Regions from separate parts of the Homo sapiens genome. Here all the other regions are linked to region 3. Evidence: promoter capture Hi-C in 16 types of primary human blood cells and fetal thymus (Javierre and others, 2016). All regions are on one chromosome and are shown on one strand. Each heading gives the region's core, a stretch centred on a gene start or on the middle of the fragment in contact. The rest is flanking DNA. Distances are from core to core; before and after follow the strand shown. Region 1 overlaps PDE6H (phosphodiesterase 6H). Region 2 overlaps ATF7IP (activating transcription factor 7 interacting protein). Region 3 holds the start of GSG1 (germ cell associated 1). Region 4 overlaps ARHGDIB (Rho GDP dissociation inhibitor beta).

Region 1 (4,701 bases), core at 232-2,731, 1.9 Mb after region 3:
GCAAAAGAAACTTGCAAGAAAAAAGGGGATGTATCATTGGGGAATATGGATGTCACGTGTGATTTTTAAATTCTTCGGGGTTGCTGTTGGGGTGTCAAAGGAATTCAAGGAAAGCTTCTTAAGACAGAATTTTAAGACCAGAAATAAGTTAACAGTCGGGGTGTTTGAAGGAAGCAGAGAATTACCCAGCGAGGGCAGATGATAATTGCCCCTCTGGTGTATGGCAAGGGCCCTTCAGCAGTTGGCCCAGAGGAAGGAGGTGCAGAGTCCAGGTGAACAAGTGTCATAACCACAGATTTGTTTGCATGGCTTTCTTTTCTCTCAGAAGGTCTAGCATATATTTGCCCTTTTTGAACACTTTGTACCACTCTACTTATATTGTCTTCCTAAAATTTCCCCATAACTCTAAAAGGAAGGTCTTGTTTGATTCATTTTATAGATGGAATAAGACCCACAGAGGATTATGAAATTTATCCTAAGTCACGTAGCCAGTTCTGTGGAGTAGGAACTTAAAACTATATCAGTTTGATTCTAAAGAGTGTACTCTCTACCGTGTTACCATCAAAGGACAATTTGACAAATGAGGGTCACTTTAGGCCCTTACATTATAGAACTCTGGATCCAACTCAATTGGATCTTATTAGGGCTGCCAGATAAAAATGAAGGATGCCAGTTCAATTTGAATTCCAGAAAAAAAATGACTTTTTAAAGTATAAATATGTACCATGAAACAGCTGAGATATACTTTACTAAAAAAAATTATTTCTTTGTAATTCAAATTGAACTGGGTGTCTTGTAATTTTTTTTTTTTTGGCTTAATCTGGCAATTCTAACCCTAATAGATTCTTTAGATGAGAGAAAAGAAACTTTTTGATTTCTTCTACCTTGAAAATCCTGGGCAGTTCAAAAACCTTGATCTGAGAGCAATTCTCTAGCTGCCCTCTGTGACTCTGGCAGGGCTGGGATGTGTCAGTTACTGGTGGTCCACTCTGAGCACAGCGCAGATCTTGGCTGCTCACCAGCTATTCCCAGGGTCCCAACCACACTTGGGACAGACACAAGGTTTGCCTGTCTACCGGGGGTAGAGAGGGCCCACAGAACGGGAACTGAATTTAGTGAGCAGAGGAACTGGCAGTGCATTTCCTAAAGCCTGAAAGCTAATGACTTCTCTGTGCTCTGATGGAGAAGTCAAAGGGTCAGGATCTCATGACCAAGGTTTACAGTATTTGTTCAATTTCTTTTGTTTTTTTTTTTTGTTTTTTTTTTTTGGAGACGGGGTCTTGCCCTGTCGCCCAGGCTGGAGTGCAGTGGCACAATCTCAGCTCACTGCAAACTCCACCTCCTGGGTTCACACCATTCTCCTGCCTCAGCCTCCCAAGTAGCTGGGACTACAGGTGCCCGCCACCACACCTGGCTAATCTTTTGTATTTTTAGTAGAGATGGGGTTTCACCGTGTTAGCCAGGATGGTCTTGATCTCCTGACCTCGTGATCCGCCCGCCTCGGCCTCCCAAAGTGCTGGGATTACAGGCGTGAGCCACCGTGCCTGGCCTGTTCAATTTCTAAATTAATTTATTAACTCATTTGACAAATATAATATATATGGCATGATTACTGTACACCATGCACTGTTGTAGGTTCTGAGACTGGAAGGACAGCCTCATGAAGCTAGTCCAGTAGGGGATAAAGGAAGGAATCACAGCATGAGCAGGTGGTCCAGGGTCCTGGCCAATCTCACCATCCCTGGTACTGGCAAGGGTAATAATTTAGTAATAATCAGAATTTAAATAAGAGAAAAATCTTGGAGGCGAGGATAATAATTGCAACCCAATTGTCAAGGAAATAAGAAAACAGTATGGACTGGAAGTTATAGAATATGAGGTTTCAGGAATATGCAGTGTGGCCAGTAAAGAGAGTCATTGTTAGCACGAGCCAAAGACTGTCAGGGAGGTTTGCAGTTAACAGTATTAGCATAGGCTGGTGTGATGGGTCATGCCTGTAAACCTAGCACTTCGGGAGGCTGAGGCGGGAGGGTCACTTGAGCCCAGGAGTTTGAGGCTGTAGTGAGCTATGATTGCAATTGCACCACTGCACTACAGCCTGGCTGATGGAGCAAGAACTTGTCTCTCTTAAAAAAAAAGAAAAAAGAATATTAGCATAAATCTGCAATGGGTGAAATAAGGAATCTTATGGAGACAAAGCCCCCACACACTAGTTTTTATAGAGGAGACTGTCTCAGGGTAAGAGGCAAAAGCAATTTGGAGTTCTCTGGGGCTTTTCAGGATCTTCCTTCCAAGAGCAAGTTTTGTTAACTCTTACGAAAGAAAGGAAGAAAGAAAATAACGTCATCCAAAATGACACATTAATTGCTTAAATTTATCTTTTTCAATAATTTTCTTTGATTTGTATTTGAAGAATGGCAATGTGCATTTCTGTAGCCAAATTAAAGTCTGAGAACACCATATTGGATAGGTCCGTGGTGTGGATAGAAGAAGGCATTGAAGATTTGTGAAAAGTGGGGGCTGAAGAACCTTATGTCTCGACGTAGAGTTGAAGCACAAACGTATTACTTAATTATCCTTCATTAACTTCTGTATGTGCGTGTGTATTAAGATGTGTTGAATATATTCATGGGTGTTGGTATTCCTGCTTCAGAGGTCCTCCTGTCCAGACAACTACACTGTCATCTCCCAGAACTAAGAGAGAAGTTTCTGGTTCATGTGAGGATTAAACAAAATAATCCTATCTTAAACTATAAGGACATGAAGGACTATAAAAAAACAGAGGCCATAAAAAATGCTCAATAAACATTTAGAGTCAGGTTATTTTACAGCTGGATGGAAGAATATGTAAAGCTTAAAGAAATTGCAGATGCTGTAAAAGACTATAGATATCACTGAGTCCATTTTCCTCTCTTCGTAACTGACAGAACTGGTAGTCACAGAGAAGTACAGCATCATAATAAATTCACGTAGAATGCTTGTGGCAAATCTATTTTATTTATTTATTTTTAAATTTTAATTTGTTATACCTAATGTGAAGCTTTAATTTAATTTATTTATTTAAAAATTGTTTTCAGTGGCAGATCCATGGGAACAGCATAGCTACCTAGATTTCTGAGTTTTAAAATCTATCAATTGTCCGTTTACACAACTGATAGATTGTGTAAGTAATGTAGCAGAAGGTAAGTTTCCATTCCATTCCATTAAGTGCCTGCATTGATTTATACTCTGTTTTCTTAAAGATCCCTTTTAAAGATGATAACTTCTCCCCTTTTGTGTCAACACAAAATACTGAGCTTTCTTGTTGAAGTACTTTTCTTCTCCAGCCTGAAATAAAGATCTAATAACCAATGGTCCCCATGACTTGAAAGATCTTCTTTTTTTTATCTTTCACTGTCTAAGGAGGCTGAAAGGGAAACATCAGCCGCCCGGGGGGAGTTAAAATGAGTGACAACACTACTCTGCCTGCTCCAGCTTCAAACCAGGGTCCTACCACCCCACGCAAAGGCCCTCCCAAGTTCAAGCAGAGGCAGACTCGCCAATTCAAGAGTAAACCTCCAAAGAAAGGTGTGAAAGGGTAAGACCAAAATGAAAAGAAAAACTTTCTATTACTTTCTTTTTCCCACAAGACTGCTTTTGTTTTGGGAAATTGGTGCTCACAATATTAAACAGACTTACAAAAATTTCCACTCCATCCTCTCTTTTCCTCTGTAACTCCATCTTTGATGAATTGTGTCTTTATCCCTGGAATTCTTTCCTTCTCAACTTCCAGGTCTGTGGCCGAATTTAACATGGCAAATAGAGGCTTTTTACAATAAACTTTGACTTTGCCTTGCAGGCTTTTGATGACCACTCCTCTTTACTGAGACAACCTCTACGTTAATCTGTAACACTGAACCACTGACCATTTCCAGAAAATATAGCTTATATTTATGTCTTCCAATTTTGTATCCTCAGTTCTTTATTTTCCTCTTCCTCTCCTTGGCAAAATCCTATTGATTTTTCAACACACAGATCATATGCTAATTTCTTTTTGAAGCTACTCCTGACTCTCTTTAACAAACTATCATTACTTTCATGTTTGCATTTTGTACATTCAGCTATCATAACTTACATTATATCTTATATTTATTTATTTGTATCTATTCTCCGAGGCTAAGACCACTCAGAAAATTTGTCTGTTTTCTTCTTAACTCTCTGTGCTTAATAAAATGCCTGGTATATAATAGATGCTTAGTTAATGATTTTGAATAAGTAAACAAATGGATGAATTCATCATTTTTAATGCCTTTTGTATTGCTTTCTCATTTCAATTTTTATTATAAAAAGTGAAACTTGACTAAGTTGTCCCACTGATGGTTCTTTCTGACTCTTAATTGTTTTAGGTTAAGTTCCTACAGGAGAGAAATATCTCTCCAGTGGGATACACCAAAACCTGCCTGAGTGACATTTTCTTTGCTCCAGTTCAGGGCAAACTAAAGGAGTTTCTCACATACAAACACTTAAACCTCTCCTTCTTCCCCCTTGAATCAAGAAACTCTCCATGTGAGTGACTCCAAAATTCTTTTGCTCTAATCTCAGCTAATTTCTCCTTTATTCTTTTCCATAGATTTGGAGATGACATTCCAGGAATGGAGGGGCTAGGAACAGGTAAGCCATCCACTGATTTAAGTGAGAACTTCGCACTTGGAGTTCTGCCTT
Region 2 (4,271 bases), core at 1,688-4,187, 1.3 Mb after region 3:
AGTGTTTATGCTTCTGTAAATAAACGATTGGTCTCATTACAAATGACCCAATATAAAACAAATTTCTTAAAACCTGTGACATTATACAGTCAAGGTGAATCCTGCTTTTTTAGTAATATTAATAAAACTTAAATCACTTTTGTTTCCTGTAGATTTTCTCAGAGTCATCTATCATAATAAGCACATAGTAGTTCCCATGTAGTGCCTGAAAAGTGCCCTACAAAAGTTATTTTTTCCATCTTGGATTCTGAACTGCAGATGTTTTTAGGCCAAGACTAAAATCTTAGTTGACATATTAGTTGACTTCTTCCTAGAAAGTAGGAGTTGAGATCCTAAAAATGAAGGTTCTTTTGAGATTTTTGTGGTAGAAACAAAAACACTGAGAATTTCAGCTCACTATTTATTGAGCAAATAACTGTGTTCTATACTATGGAAGAGAATGGAAAATGAATCAAGATGCGATTTATATCCTTATATAAAGATTATTTGCATAAAGATACAAGTAATGAAATGGTGGTAAGTATAATGATGATATGCATAAAAGATATTGAGAGAGTAATGATACCTGGTTTGGGGATGTGCGTATTAAGGAGAGAGTAAGCAAAGAATTATCAGTGATAGGGTAATATAGGTTGAATCATGTAGAGGATATATCAAGTAAACTATAATAGGATAGTTTCTTTGGGATAAAGGTGTTGGCCTTGACACTATTTATCTGAATAACAGCCTAATTATTTTCCTTTTCTAAACTGTTTCATCAGACACAGAAACAGAACCAATGTGTGAAGGGATGGATAAAGCTCTGTCAGCTGGTACTAAGTGTTGTCTGGGTTGTATTTCTGCTTGTATCAGTTTTGTGAAATTATTTAATCTTATTGGAGAATTCTGGATTTTCGGATTAGGGATGTCCAACCTGTATTATTAGTAGCCAGCAGCTTTCTCTTGGTAGACTATGTTTAGACTAAGAAAAAAGTAGTCAGGATTTACATTGGAAAAGTATTTGGCAAGAGAAGGGAGGCTTGAAGAAGATATCATCCATTTGACAGTGTGTTCCATAATTTAAATCTTTGTGGATCAGACTTCCTAAAAACACTTTGCTTCCAGAATGTAAGAAAGTGTTCATTAGGCAGCTCTGAATATTTTGGCTATGTGTACCATCTTTCCCCACCCCCCAATTAAACATAGATTCCAGTGCTACAGTAATATCAATTCTGTTCCAGCCTTTCTCAATTTACCAAATCTTGCTTTTGTTTTTAATTATAATTTTTTTTGAGACAGGATCTGGCTCTGTTGACTAGGCTGGATGGAGTGCAGTGGTTCAAGTTCACTGTAGCCTTGAACTTCTGGGCTCAAGTGATCTTCCTGCATCAGCCTCTTGAGTAGCTGGAACTACAGGTTCATATTACCACACCTGCTAATGTTTTAAAAATTTTTTTTGTAGAGACAGACAGAGATCTCGCTTTGTTGGCCACGCAGGTCTCAAACTCCTGGCTTCAAGAGAGCCTTCCGCCTTGGCCTCCCAGAGTGTTGGGATTATAGGTGTGAAGCACTGTGCTTGGCCTAAATCTTGCTTTTAATGAATAGTCTTTGCTTGAGAATCACAGTTGTATTTTTAAAGAATTAATATGGCTTGGATCAAGTTTAACTTTTTTTTTCTGATATACTGAAGTTGTTACATACATTATTCATTTTGCCTCATGGAAAATACATAAGGACCTTTTAAAGATAAGTAATTTAAAAAACTTTTATTATGGAAAATTTCAAATATATACTGAAATAGAATGAGATAATAAATTCTGTGTGCCCATTGCTCAGCTTGAACCATTGTCAAGTCATAGGGCCAATCTCCTTTTAGCTATATCCCTATTACTCCCCTATACCCTTAAAACTTTTTAGTAAATACCTATATTTAGTGATAGATAGAACAAGATACACAGGTTAGCTAGATTTTAGGAAGGTAGACTGAGGAAGAGAGAAAGAAAATGTGGATTCTATTGCTGATGTGAACAGGTTCTCTCTGTGCTTTTGTCCTTCCCTTCTCTTTGATTGATATGTTTCTGCCAACCCACATTTGTTGGAGCTCTTTCAAATTTGTCTTGCTAATATATCTATTAGACTGAGTTTTACTCTTTTTTAAAATTCCCTTCTTTCCATCAGGGTGCCTATAATTCTTTGTTTTTATTTGCTTTTCACTCACATCAAAAAGTTGGGAGGTCTTTGTCAGGGCATGAAATGTAATTTGCCCTGGGACTAAACACTCACCTGGGGATGTTAATGTTTGTGACCATCTGTACTACTGAAGAGAAGAAATTATTTTTATATCTATGGTAAATTACTCAATAAGCTTTTTGCCATCTTCTAGAGATTCTGTTATCAAGGTTCAAAAATTTAATTGTAGGCTTTAACTGTTCTGCTAGATTTGAGCACTTTGGGGCTTTTAGATTCTGTGGAGAAAATCTTTAGCCTTCTATAAATTGAAATTAACTTAATCAATCAAGTCATTTTCAGGATTTAAACAATTTTCTAGAAATTATAAAATTGAAATTCTTTTCATGATAAAACTATAAAAGGTAAAAAAAAAAAAAAGGCCTTGAGCAAGGTTTAACTTTTTTTTTTTTTTTCTGGACTGAAATGGAGGCTTTCTTTCAAGCGAATTCCCTGATGTTTGCTCTGTGTGATTTGGCTCCATCTCTGTAACTGCTAATATGTGGCATGGATTTCAAGTTGTTTGGGATCTGGATGTGCCCAAAGTCTGTATTGCAAGACGGGATTCACAGGCATTATGTTACAAAACTGGCTTGCTGCCTTCTGTTTTCTTTTTCTGTGTCCTGTGTAGCTGCATTGTTTGTTGCAGTATATGCATTAGCTGTTGTCTATGTTCAGTTTCCTGCAGGCTGACAAAGTGGGAGGGGCTTTGTTTGTTACATAGCTGAGTTTTCACTGTGTGAGTTCTTGAGTGCACATTGCAGCCATCTTAATTACACTTTTGTGCAACTGAGACTGTGCAGCTGTCTCAAAATGGCTGCTAACCTAGTCTTTGTAGCTGCTTAGGCAGCAAGTATGTCAGTGAGGAGACTTGTCACATGCATCAGGACCAGAGGTAAGAACCAATTACTCTTTTATCTTAAACATTCTCATTTTTTTCTTTTTTAAAAAGGAATTTAACTGAGTTTACTTAGAGGGGTGAACTTAGAGCTTGGTTTTTAAAAAGTTGAAATGTTTGGTAGAACCTTTAAGCCTTTATTATGGAAACAGTACATAGCATGGTGGGGTCAAAGGTTAAATTCCTGTAATTTCTCACCATTTTATGTTCTGTCATTGCCAGAACATTTGATCACCATAGTAGTGCATTTCTGGCCCTAATTAATGTAATATTCCTTTTGTGTAGGCTATTTTAGTGTGTTTGGTATTTATTTGTAGAAATTAAAACAATATATTATCTGAATAGATTTTTTTTTTAAAGGATCCATAAGTAAGCCTTGTTTTGCACAAAGACTACAATTTTTCTACGGTTTTGTGAGGTATTGTGTGGAAGCTTTTTGGAAAGAAGGGTAATTATATAAATCATGAAAAAAAATTTTTAATACTGTCCAAAATCTTTTTTTTTGGCATTATGGGTTGCAGTTCTTTCTCATCATGCTGCCTCCTCCCAGTATCCAACTCTTTGACATTTTTAATGCTGCTTTGCTTCTTTGTTCAAATTACTTTTTGCTTAAGTTGGCATTCAGATTCAGATTTTGAATTTAGAAATAAATTCACATCTAGTCATGGATACCTCTTTTTAAAAAATATATCTAATGTATTCAAATACCATCAGAGCTGAAGTACTCAGTTAATTAAGTTATATTTTCATTTTAGTCTTAATTCAAACCTGTAGTATATTTAAAAGAAATATAGCTCAATGATTTTGTAAATTTAATTTCAAAAAGTTTAAAAAGCTTTCTTAACATCGTTCTGGAGTAGAAATGTTTATTGAGATACTGTAAGTCTGTGGTTACCCAGAAAGATGGGAGAATGAAATTCTTATTCACGTAGTATTTCAGATAGCAGAAAAGGCATACTTTAAGCAGCAATACTTAAATTGCAGTACCTGTTAAAATATTTTTTAGCTGGTATAATATACTCCTGGTTTTGTCCGTAGAGTATTAAGAATATATCCCTGACTTATATGACATAGAACAGTAAGTTCTAAACTTTCTGAGTAGAGCAGCTTTCTAAAAACAGAAACTTTTTGCATGTTAAACTCTTAGGGAGGATTCCAATATATAAAA
Region 3 (4,288 bases), core at 242-2,741:
AAATGGTAAAGTCAACACTGGCAATCTTTGAGGACTGTTCGCCTGACTCATCACCAGGCTGCCACTCAGTAAAAGCCAAGGCACAGTCACCTTTAACAAAATGTACAGATTGCAGGCCAGATTTATGGGACCTCCTGCAGATTGAGGCAATGGATTAAGTGTACTTTATACTTCTCAGGTACATATTAGCAACCAGACGCTCCCATATTCCCTCTGTGTCTCTCCTGGAAAACCACTGATAAAGAACAATAATAAAATTTATTCTAAGCCATGACTGGCTTTTTCTGTCATGTTCACATCCACTTCTTTGTCATCTATTCACTTGGGGCTGCTTCTGAATTAGGGAAGCTGCCTGAACCCACACTCCGATGGCTCTTCAGAACCACCAGCTCAGCTCTGCAGTCCCAGAAGTGCCTCTTAAGTTATCCTGTTCTTTCCTTTGAGATCCTAACTTCCAGCTGGTCAACAACATACCACATTGCTCCCTGTGTTGGAGTGTATGTACGTGTGTGTGTGTTTGTGTATGTGCTAGTTTGCTGGCTAATTGCAAGCTTCATTTTTCTCTCCTGAGAAAGGCAAGATATCTGAGAATGAACACCATTTGTTTTTTTAAGTAATCCTTAGAGCTGAAAGTTGGGAGGCTGGTCGTTTCTGAATGTAGGTCAAATGCTAAACAAGCCGCAACTTCTCTGCAGAGTGTGAGAGTCTTCCTGGTCTGGAAGGATCCCTGAAGATTCTGCTGGATTCTCTGAGACGAGAAAGAGCTTGACTGTGTGTTGTCCTTCCCAGTTCCAGATCAGAGCTGCCTTCCAGCAGGACCTTGGGGATGCCCCACTGTTCTCTGGCATAGAGCTTGATGTCTGCTCTTTCAGCTCACTGGGGTGACACACAGCTCTATTGTTGCCACCGCTACTGGGCCTTTACCAGGCTCCAGATTTTGGCAACGGGAATAATGCAGATGAAAGGAAAAAAGGAGAGGCATAGGGAGCCCTGGGAACAGAAAGGAGAAGGAAGATGATGAGACAAGGGAAGAAGAAATGGAAGTTTTAATGAAGGAAGATGAAAAGGTAATAGGCCAAGGTATGGACATACCAGTTTTATCTATGAAAACTGGGCTGAGTGACACATTTTCATTCCATTTTGTAGAACCCTATAGTGCATTTCCAAGCTCTTTACTGTGACCATGTGAAATACATGAAATTGATGAGTTAGTGTAACCTGTGTTACAAATCCAGCAGTAAAGATATGTGTATGAGATGTTCATGAGATTTCAAAATCACTGTACCTACCTCCTGGGTGAGGCAAACATTTTGAGTCAGTTGAGAGGGATCGCTCATTCACTCTTGCAGCGGGAAGGCAGAGAAGTTTCAGTTTATCTTCTGTTCTGTCTCAATCAGTTGGGTAGAATGAGTGTTTAGCGTGAGGATGAATCAGGTCCCCTCTTGCCAGCAGAGGGGTAAGGTGGTGTGTGGTGGATTGGAGAGGATGTCCTGAGGGCCAGACACCAGCCAGGGCGGGGTTGGGTGACCCGTGGGGTTTATTCTGTGATGTCACAACGGCAGTCAGGGGTCTCCCTGTTGCTCCCTCAGCCTCCTCCCATAAGGATTGGGGGGGGTCATGCTGGGTACCTACCAGTGGCTGGATGTCTTCTGAGGTCGTCCAGATCAGTGCTTATCTTATTGTGCATAAGATTCACCTGGGGAACTTAGTCAAGTGCAGATCCTGACTTAGTCAAGTGCAGAGTCTGGGATGGCTCTCACGTGAGTCCAGCCAGACCACACTGAGTTGTGAGACTCTAGACCAGTGCTGTCAAAGCAAAATGCAATGTGGGCAGCATATGTCATTTAAAATTTTCTGGTAGCCACATTAAAAAAAGTAAATTGGACACACATACTGTGATACAGCAATCATATGTTATACAATACTATGTTTAAAATGTAGCCCTCCCCACACAATAAAGTTGGGTTTAATGAAAAATATTTTATACTACTTTCATTTTAAAATTAAAATTTAGTGAATTCAAATTACATAAAATTAGAAATTCAGTTGCTCAGTTGCACTATCCATATCATAAGGGCTCCACAGCCACACATGGCAAGTAGCTACTGTATTGGATGGCACAACTCAAGGCCATTCCCTGAAAAGGTAACAATGTACAGAAATTACCATTCTAAAGGGCTAGTATCTGGAAACCCAGCAAACATTCACTAACATCATTTTAATGAATACATAATTAGTGTTTGGGGACTGTTAATATGGAGGCATAACTCTCGGAGACTGGAAGAGGGCCTCATCCAGGATTCCAGCTAACAGTCTGGATGGGGCCCTCTGCCCTGTGAAACCTGTCACACTCAGTCCTCCTCTGAGCTTTTGCCAGGGTTCCCCTCACTGGGATCCCTTCCTTCTCCTTGCTGCCCTGCCTAAATCTTACACAACCTCAGGGCACATGATTCCAGTCTCACTACCTTGTGGCTCTAGCCCTCCTTACTCCCCATTTCCTCTTTGCTCATACAGCATGCCTGCTTTGCTTTTGGTGTGTTAGTCTGTTTCTCTCGTGAAATTCTAAGCTGCTTGAGGACAGAATCTGGTTTTTTACTTCTATCGTGCTTAATATAGTGCCAAGGGCATAGTAGCTGCTCAAGAAATATTTATTATTTTATTTAATGACCTAAACTACCTAAGGAAGTATCTAAGAGAGAACATCGGATCTCGAAGTGCCAATAACTTCCCCAATGGAACAACATGCCTTATTTTTGGCACATCTTAAATTGATCAAGATGTCCGTTATAAGTTAATTTATAAATTTAATACAAATAACCATGAGTATTTTAAAAGACCAACACAAGTTGATATTAAAGTTTATATGGGAAAAAAATACACAAGACTAGCTAGGAAAACCCTGAAAAGGAAGAGCTCTGAGGTGGTGCTAGCCCTAATTGATATAAAGCATACTACAAAGCCTCTATGATTAAAACAACATGGCACATGTATACATATGTAACAAACCCGCACGTTGTGCACATGTACGCTAGAACTTAAAGTATATTAAAAAAAACAAAAAAACCAAAAAAAAACAATGTGGTACTGGTGCATGACTAGACAAACAGGCCAATGGAAGAGAACAGAAAGTCTAGAGATAAACACAGCTATGTATAGACTTCCAGTATAGGACAAAGGTGATATCTGTAATCACTGGGGCACAGATGATTTTTTTAAGAAATGTTGTTGGGATAAACTAGATAGCCATTTAGAAAAATATAAATTATATTTATTTAAAAATCATATACAAGAATAAACTCTAGATGGACTAGAGATCTGAATTTTAAAAATGAGATTATGGCCGGATGCTTAATCCCAGCACGTCAGGAGGCCGAGGCAGGAGGATAACTTGAGCCCAGGAGTTCAAGACCAGCCTGGGCAACACAGTGAAACCTTATTGCTACGAAAAGTACAAAAATTAGCTGGGCGAGGTTGTGAGCGCTTGTAGTCCCAGCTACTTGGGAGACCGAGGTGGGAGGATTGCTTGAGCCCGGGAAGTTGAGGCTGCAGTGAGCCATGATCCTGCCACTGAACTCCAGCCTGGGCGATGCTGGGTGACAGCGCAAGACTGCCTCAAAAAAAGAAAAAAAAAAAAAAAAGAGAGAGAGAGAGAGAGAGACATATGAATGACCCTAAATATATGAAAAAATGTTCAACTTCACATATAGTAAACATAATGCAATTTAAAACTAGAATGAAATATCACTTCTCATCCACCAGACTGACAAAATTATAAAGTTTGACAGTGCAATCTGTTGATGATGCTGTGGGGAACAGACGCTCTCACTCATTGCTAGTGGGAATCCCAAATGGTGTACCCCTTTGGTGAATTTGGCAATATCTAACACAACTGCATGTGCATCCCATCACCCAGAAATCCTACTTCTAGAAATTTACCCTGAAGATACACCTCCAACAATAGGCATGAAGCTATTCATTACAACATATTTGTAATTGTAAAATATGGAAACTACCTAAATAAGAATTGGTGGAATTAATTATGGTTCATACACACAATGAGGTACTATGCAGCTATAAAAAACAAAGCAAACAAGGGAGATTTCTATGAACTGATATGGAATGCTAAGTACATAAGAGGATATATAGTATACTATCTTTTGTGTAAAAAAGAAAAGAGGGGAAACAAAATGTACATCTATCTGCTTATTGTTACCAAACGAAGTTCAGGAAGGATAAACCAGAAAACAATAAAGTTGGTTGTTTACTGGGGGTGGGGAATGGAAATGAT
Region 4 (4,056 bases), core at 1,440-3,939, 1.9 Mb after region 3:
CATTTAGTTCTTACAGTAACTTTGTTGGCATCATCATTCTCTTTTCCAGACCAGGAAACTAAAGTTCACGTTAAGTAACTTGCCTAAGAAGACATACCACGTGGTAGGCAGAATTAATGTCTGCGCCCAGGTTGTCTGACTTTTAGGCACTATGCTTTATTGCTTCAGTCATCTTTAAGAAGTTATAATAAAATTAGAGTTTGTTAGTCATCTTGGGAATCTACCTGGAGGTGCACAAGCAGAGGTAAATGCTTCTTTGCAAGCTCTGCAGAGACAGCTTTAACAAAGCAGGGAAGTGTCAGATAACGATGTTTCAGCGCAACTCGGTTCCTGCGTTACCTCCTGCAAGTTGCTTAACCTCACTGGGCCCCAGTTTCATCCTCTGCAAAAAGAAGCCGTGGCATGAGAGGATCTCTGAGGCCCCTTCTTAATTTAATGACTCAAATGCTCCCTAATTTAAAGAAGCTTGTGAAATGAGAAAAGAAAAGAGGAAGTAAAAGGGAGATTGGGGAGGACTCAGCCCATCAGCATAGAATCTTCTGGATGGGCTTTCCTCACCTTCCTCAGCTGCTCATCCCCTATTCTACAAAGGGCAGAGCTGAGTTTTGCTTATTTTTGACTTTGGTCCTTTGCACAGGAAAAATGAAATGGAGAATGAACAGTTATATGTTTAACCAGGTTAATGTGGACCCCATTTATTAGGCCCCAAAGCACATATCATTTTTTCACACAGGCTTGCTACTCTAGTTTTCTGTATTTTCTGCTTCACAGATGCGCATACAGATTAACTTTCACATTGGAGGCCTCACATCCTCATGTTTGCTACTCAGCAAAGCACTGGCAAGCATTAGATGTGCTGAGATGGGGACTTAATCTTCTCAGGCTCAATTAAAATGTCGAATTAAATTAGGATGGTTACTCACAGCATGCATATGACATAGCACACATCAATGTTTTTGCTTGCAAATTCAGTGAAATTTCCAAGACTTTGAAAGTGAATTACACTTAAAAATTTACACCCATGTCAGGATAGAGCATCATCTGTTTCATTAATGCAGCTCTAAATGAACTGAGGACAAGAAAAGGTAGAACTCCTGAGTTTAGATTAAACAAATTACCTGGGTAATTCAGAGAAAGGTGACTTTCATGTCTCATAGAACATAGATTGAGTCAGATGGACCAGGGATTCAAAACCAGGCTCTGCATTATGACAGGACTCAATCAAGTTGCTAATTTCACTGAGCCTCAGTTTTATCACCACTAAAATGGGGATATTCTTTTTTACGGGGTTGAAAGATTGGAGAAAACACATGAAAAATTATAGGACTATACTGGTCAAGAATAGATGTTCCGTGAATATTTGTTCCCTTCCTCTTCTTCCTTCCCTGCCCCAGTGTGGTCTGCTTTGTTGCAAAGCTTCACTGAAGCTAGGTAACTGTTTCCACACCAAATACTTTCCCCTGGATGGGAGCTATGTCCCCACTCCTTCCTCCTTAAAAATAGATTTTTGTCTTTGAGGAGTATTAAAGAGATAAGAAGTTCTGGGGAATTGAAAGGATTGTTTAAAAACTGAATCAACCTTAAAATGAGACTATATTATATTTCTTTTAAAAACTTTCATGTAAACAATTTAATTTTAGGTTTTATTTATTGCTCCCTGTCTTCATTGAAGCCAGAGGTCACTCTGCGAATGATGAGAAATGTCAGTGAACACAGGCACAGCTAATGAAGAGAATTCCCTCTGGCTCTGGAGCAAAATACCACAGAGACTTAACTCACGGCCCAAAGCTGGATCTGCAAAATTGTGCTGGATTATGCATCTAGACACACAGGCCATGGATATTAATGTATTAGGTAGAAGAGATAGCGATGAGAGAGAGAGAAGGAAGAGGGGAAAGAGGGAGAGAGAAAGAGGAGAGAGAGAGGAGGGAGAAGGGAGAAAGAGAGAGAGGGAAGAGAGAGAGAAAAGTGGAAATACCAGAAGTAGGGGATTTCTATCAGAGAAGTTCCTATGTGAGCATCAGCATTCTCTGTAACTCCTGCTACCTCCACTTTCCCTGCTGACTAGGATATGTCTGACTTCCCCCAAATCGGGCTGTGGGTCTAGTGCAGGTCTGGAGAGTCAGGCCATCTCTAAAACACTGTTGACATTTCAGAGCTAGTCAAGGATTTGAATGTGCTGTGCTGCTTGCCTGGCAATTTGGTGTATTACGGGATTGCAAATTTGTCTCTCAGGACACCAGAAGCCTTCTTGGTTCGGGATTCCACCCTCTCCCCACCGCCCCTGTCCCTGGTGACATGGAGGAATCCATACTCCCCACTTTGCGGTGCTGCTTTCTACCACCTCAGCCCCATGAAGGACTACGAAAACTTCAAAACTGGATGAGAAAAACCAAAGACAAGATTATTTTGTAAGAGACAATAAATATTGTAATCAATCCAGAGAAGGGCACAAATTACTAGAAACGTAATTTCTTACCATTTGTCTTTGTGAGAGAAACAATTTATTATTTCTTGCCTGTGCATTTTTTAGTGTGTTTTTCTAACCCACATTCATATGCACAAAGAGAGAGAACTCAAAGAGATCCCGTGAGCTTTGCTGAGTGCCCAACGTGTGAAGTCATGCCACCAAGTACCTTCACAAATATTATTTTAAATAATTCTCAAAGAAAACTGTGCATTAAGGAAGCCATTGCCTTCAGTATCTCAATATATTCACAAAAGTTTTAAATTAGCATGAAAAGTTAGACAGAATTGAGAGAGAATTTTTTTTATGACCGTTTGTGCTAAGATTATTAGGCTCTTTAAGAAAGCCCAAGTGAATTTTTACCAGCGGTAAAATTCACTCTTTGGCTGTGGACACCAGAGAGTAACACAACACAGGATGATTCAGGATGTGCTTATTGCACAGATAAATGTTGCTGACGTTTCAGGGGCAACATGAGACTCATCTCTGGGTATGCCAGTGTAGCCTTGAATACAGGATCCCGGGCAGCAATAACACAAACCAGGAATAAGAACTCTCAAAATATGGAATTGGAGAAAATTTCTTCCATGTGATTCTTCCTAAAGAATGTGGGAGATCACCTGAGCCTCAGGAGGTCGAGGCTGCAGTGAGCTGCGTTCACGCCCCTGCACTTCAGCTCGGGTGACAGAGTGAGACTTGTCTCAAAAAAATAATAATAGGCCATGCATGGTGGCTCACGCCTTTAATCCCAGGACTTTGGGAGGCCAAGGCAGGCGGATTGCTTGAGCCCAGGAATTCAAGACCAGCCCTGGCAACATGGAGAAACCCCGTCTCTACTAAAAATGGTAAAATTAGCCAGCGTGGTGATGCGCGCCTATAGTCCCAGCTACTCGGGAGGTTGAGGCGGGAGGATCACGTGAGCCTCCTGAGTAGGTAGGACCACAGGCACGCACCACCATGCCCTGTGAATTGCAATTCAGAGGCATTGTGGCTATTGATCCTTTTTGTATCAGTATGTAATTTTAGTCAAATTATTGAACACTTCTGCATTCTTCTCAGGAACAAAATTTGAAAGTTTTTATCACCAGGCCTGACACATAGAAGGCACTCAATGAATGTTGGTTCTCCTTTTCTATCTGCATAATTTCGACTCCCCAGGGCTTCTCTTTTCCTGCTAGCTGATGTTTGTCATGTACTGTGCTCTCCCAAATCAGCTCAGACCCGTATCTTTCCCTCAGAATGACTTTGTGGTGCTGAGTGTCTACTGAAAACAGAACCTTAATGTTGCTCAGAGCTAACTTCCCTAGGGGACAAACTCATGCTCTCCAAAGCAAGGAAGGACCAAATTCCAGTCGAGGCCTGAAAAATGCTTGCCAGTTTCTGTTCAGTGACAGCATAGTTAGTCCTCAGGTTTTGCATCTGTGAAGCATGGATGGAGAAAGAACTGTCTCTTAGAATTTCACACATCTCACAAAAGAGTAAGATGCTCTTGTTACTAAGCTTGTGCTATATCTGCTTTGGGAGGGAATATATTCTTACAAATTAAAAAAACACAAAGCCAATGGCAAGATTCACGATGCCTGCTAGGG

The links. The method cuts DNA at HindIII sites, captures the fragments that hold promoters and counts their contacts. A CHiCAGO score of 5 or more calls a contact.
Region 1: a contact is called between a fragment that was not itself captured here and the fragment with the promoter of GSG1 in region 3, in 1 of 17 cell types (M2 macrophages). The highest score is 5.2, in M2 macrophages.
Region 2: a contact is called between a fragment that was not itself captured here and the fragment with the promoter of GSG1 in region 3, in 2 of 17 cell types (M1 macrophages and M0 macrophages). The highest score is 5.5, in M1 macrophages.
Region 4: a contact is called between a fragment that was not itself captured here and the fragment with the promoter of GSG1 in region 3, in 1 of 17 cell types (M1 macrophages). The highest score is 6.3, in M1 macrophages.

What each region holds. Positions count from the first base shown.
Region 1 is chr12:14,974,570-14,979,270 of GRCh38, forward strand. PDE6H (phosphodiesterase 6H) reads left to right here. Exons shown (of 4, transcript NM_006205.3): 2 at 3,403-3,577; 3 at 4,610-4,650. The coding sequence starts at 3,444. Among named protein-coding and RNA genes, the nearest start is that of PDE6H, 3.9 kb to the left of the region's middle. The HindIII fragment of the contact is 2,739 bases long and covers 113-2,851 here.
Region 2 is chr12:14,382,301-14,386,571 of GRCh38, forward strand. The region is part of intron 1 of ATF7IP (activating transcription factor 7 interacting protein); the gene reads left to right. Among named protein-coding and RNA genes, the nearest start is that of ATF7IP, 19 kb to the left of the region's middle. The HindIII fragment of the contact is 1,191 bases long and covers 2,343-3,533 here.
Region 3 is chr12:13,102,176-13,106,463 of GRCh38, forward strand. It overlaps GSG1 (germ cell associated 1), which reads right to left and starts at 1,492. Exons shown (of 7, transcript NM_001080555.4): 1 at 1,290-1,492. The coding sequence starts at 1,337. LOC105369666 (a long non-coding RNA gene) reads left to right here. Exons shown (of 2, transcript XR_931369.3): 2 at 1-271. The HindIII fragment of the contact is 5,406 bases long and covers 550-4,288 here.
Region 4 is chr12:14,955,952-14,960,007 of GRCh38, forward strand. The region is part of intron 1 of ARHGDIB (Rho GDP dissociation inhibitor beta); the gene reads right to left. Among named protein-coding and RNA genes, the nearest start is that of ARHGDIB, 3.6 kb to the right of the region's middle. RefSeq lists enhancers at 215-384, 3,993-4,056. The HindIII fragment of the contact is 2,551 bases long and covers 1,415-3,965 here.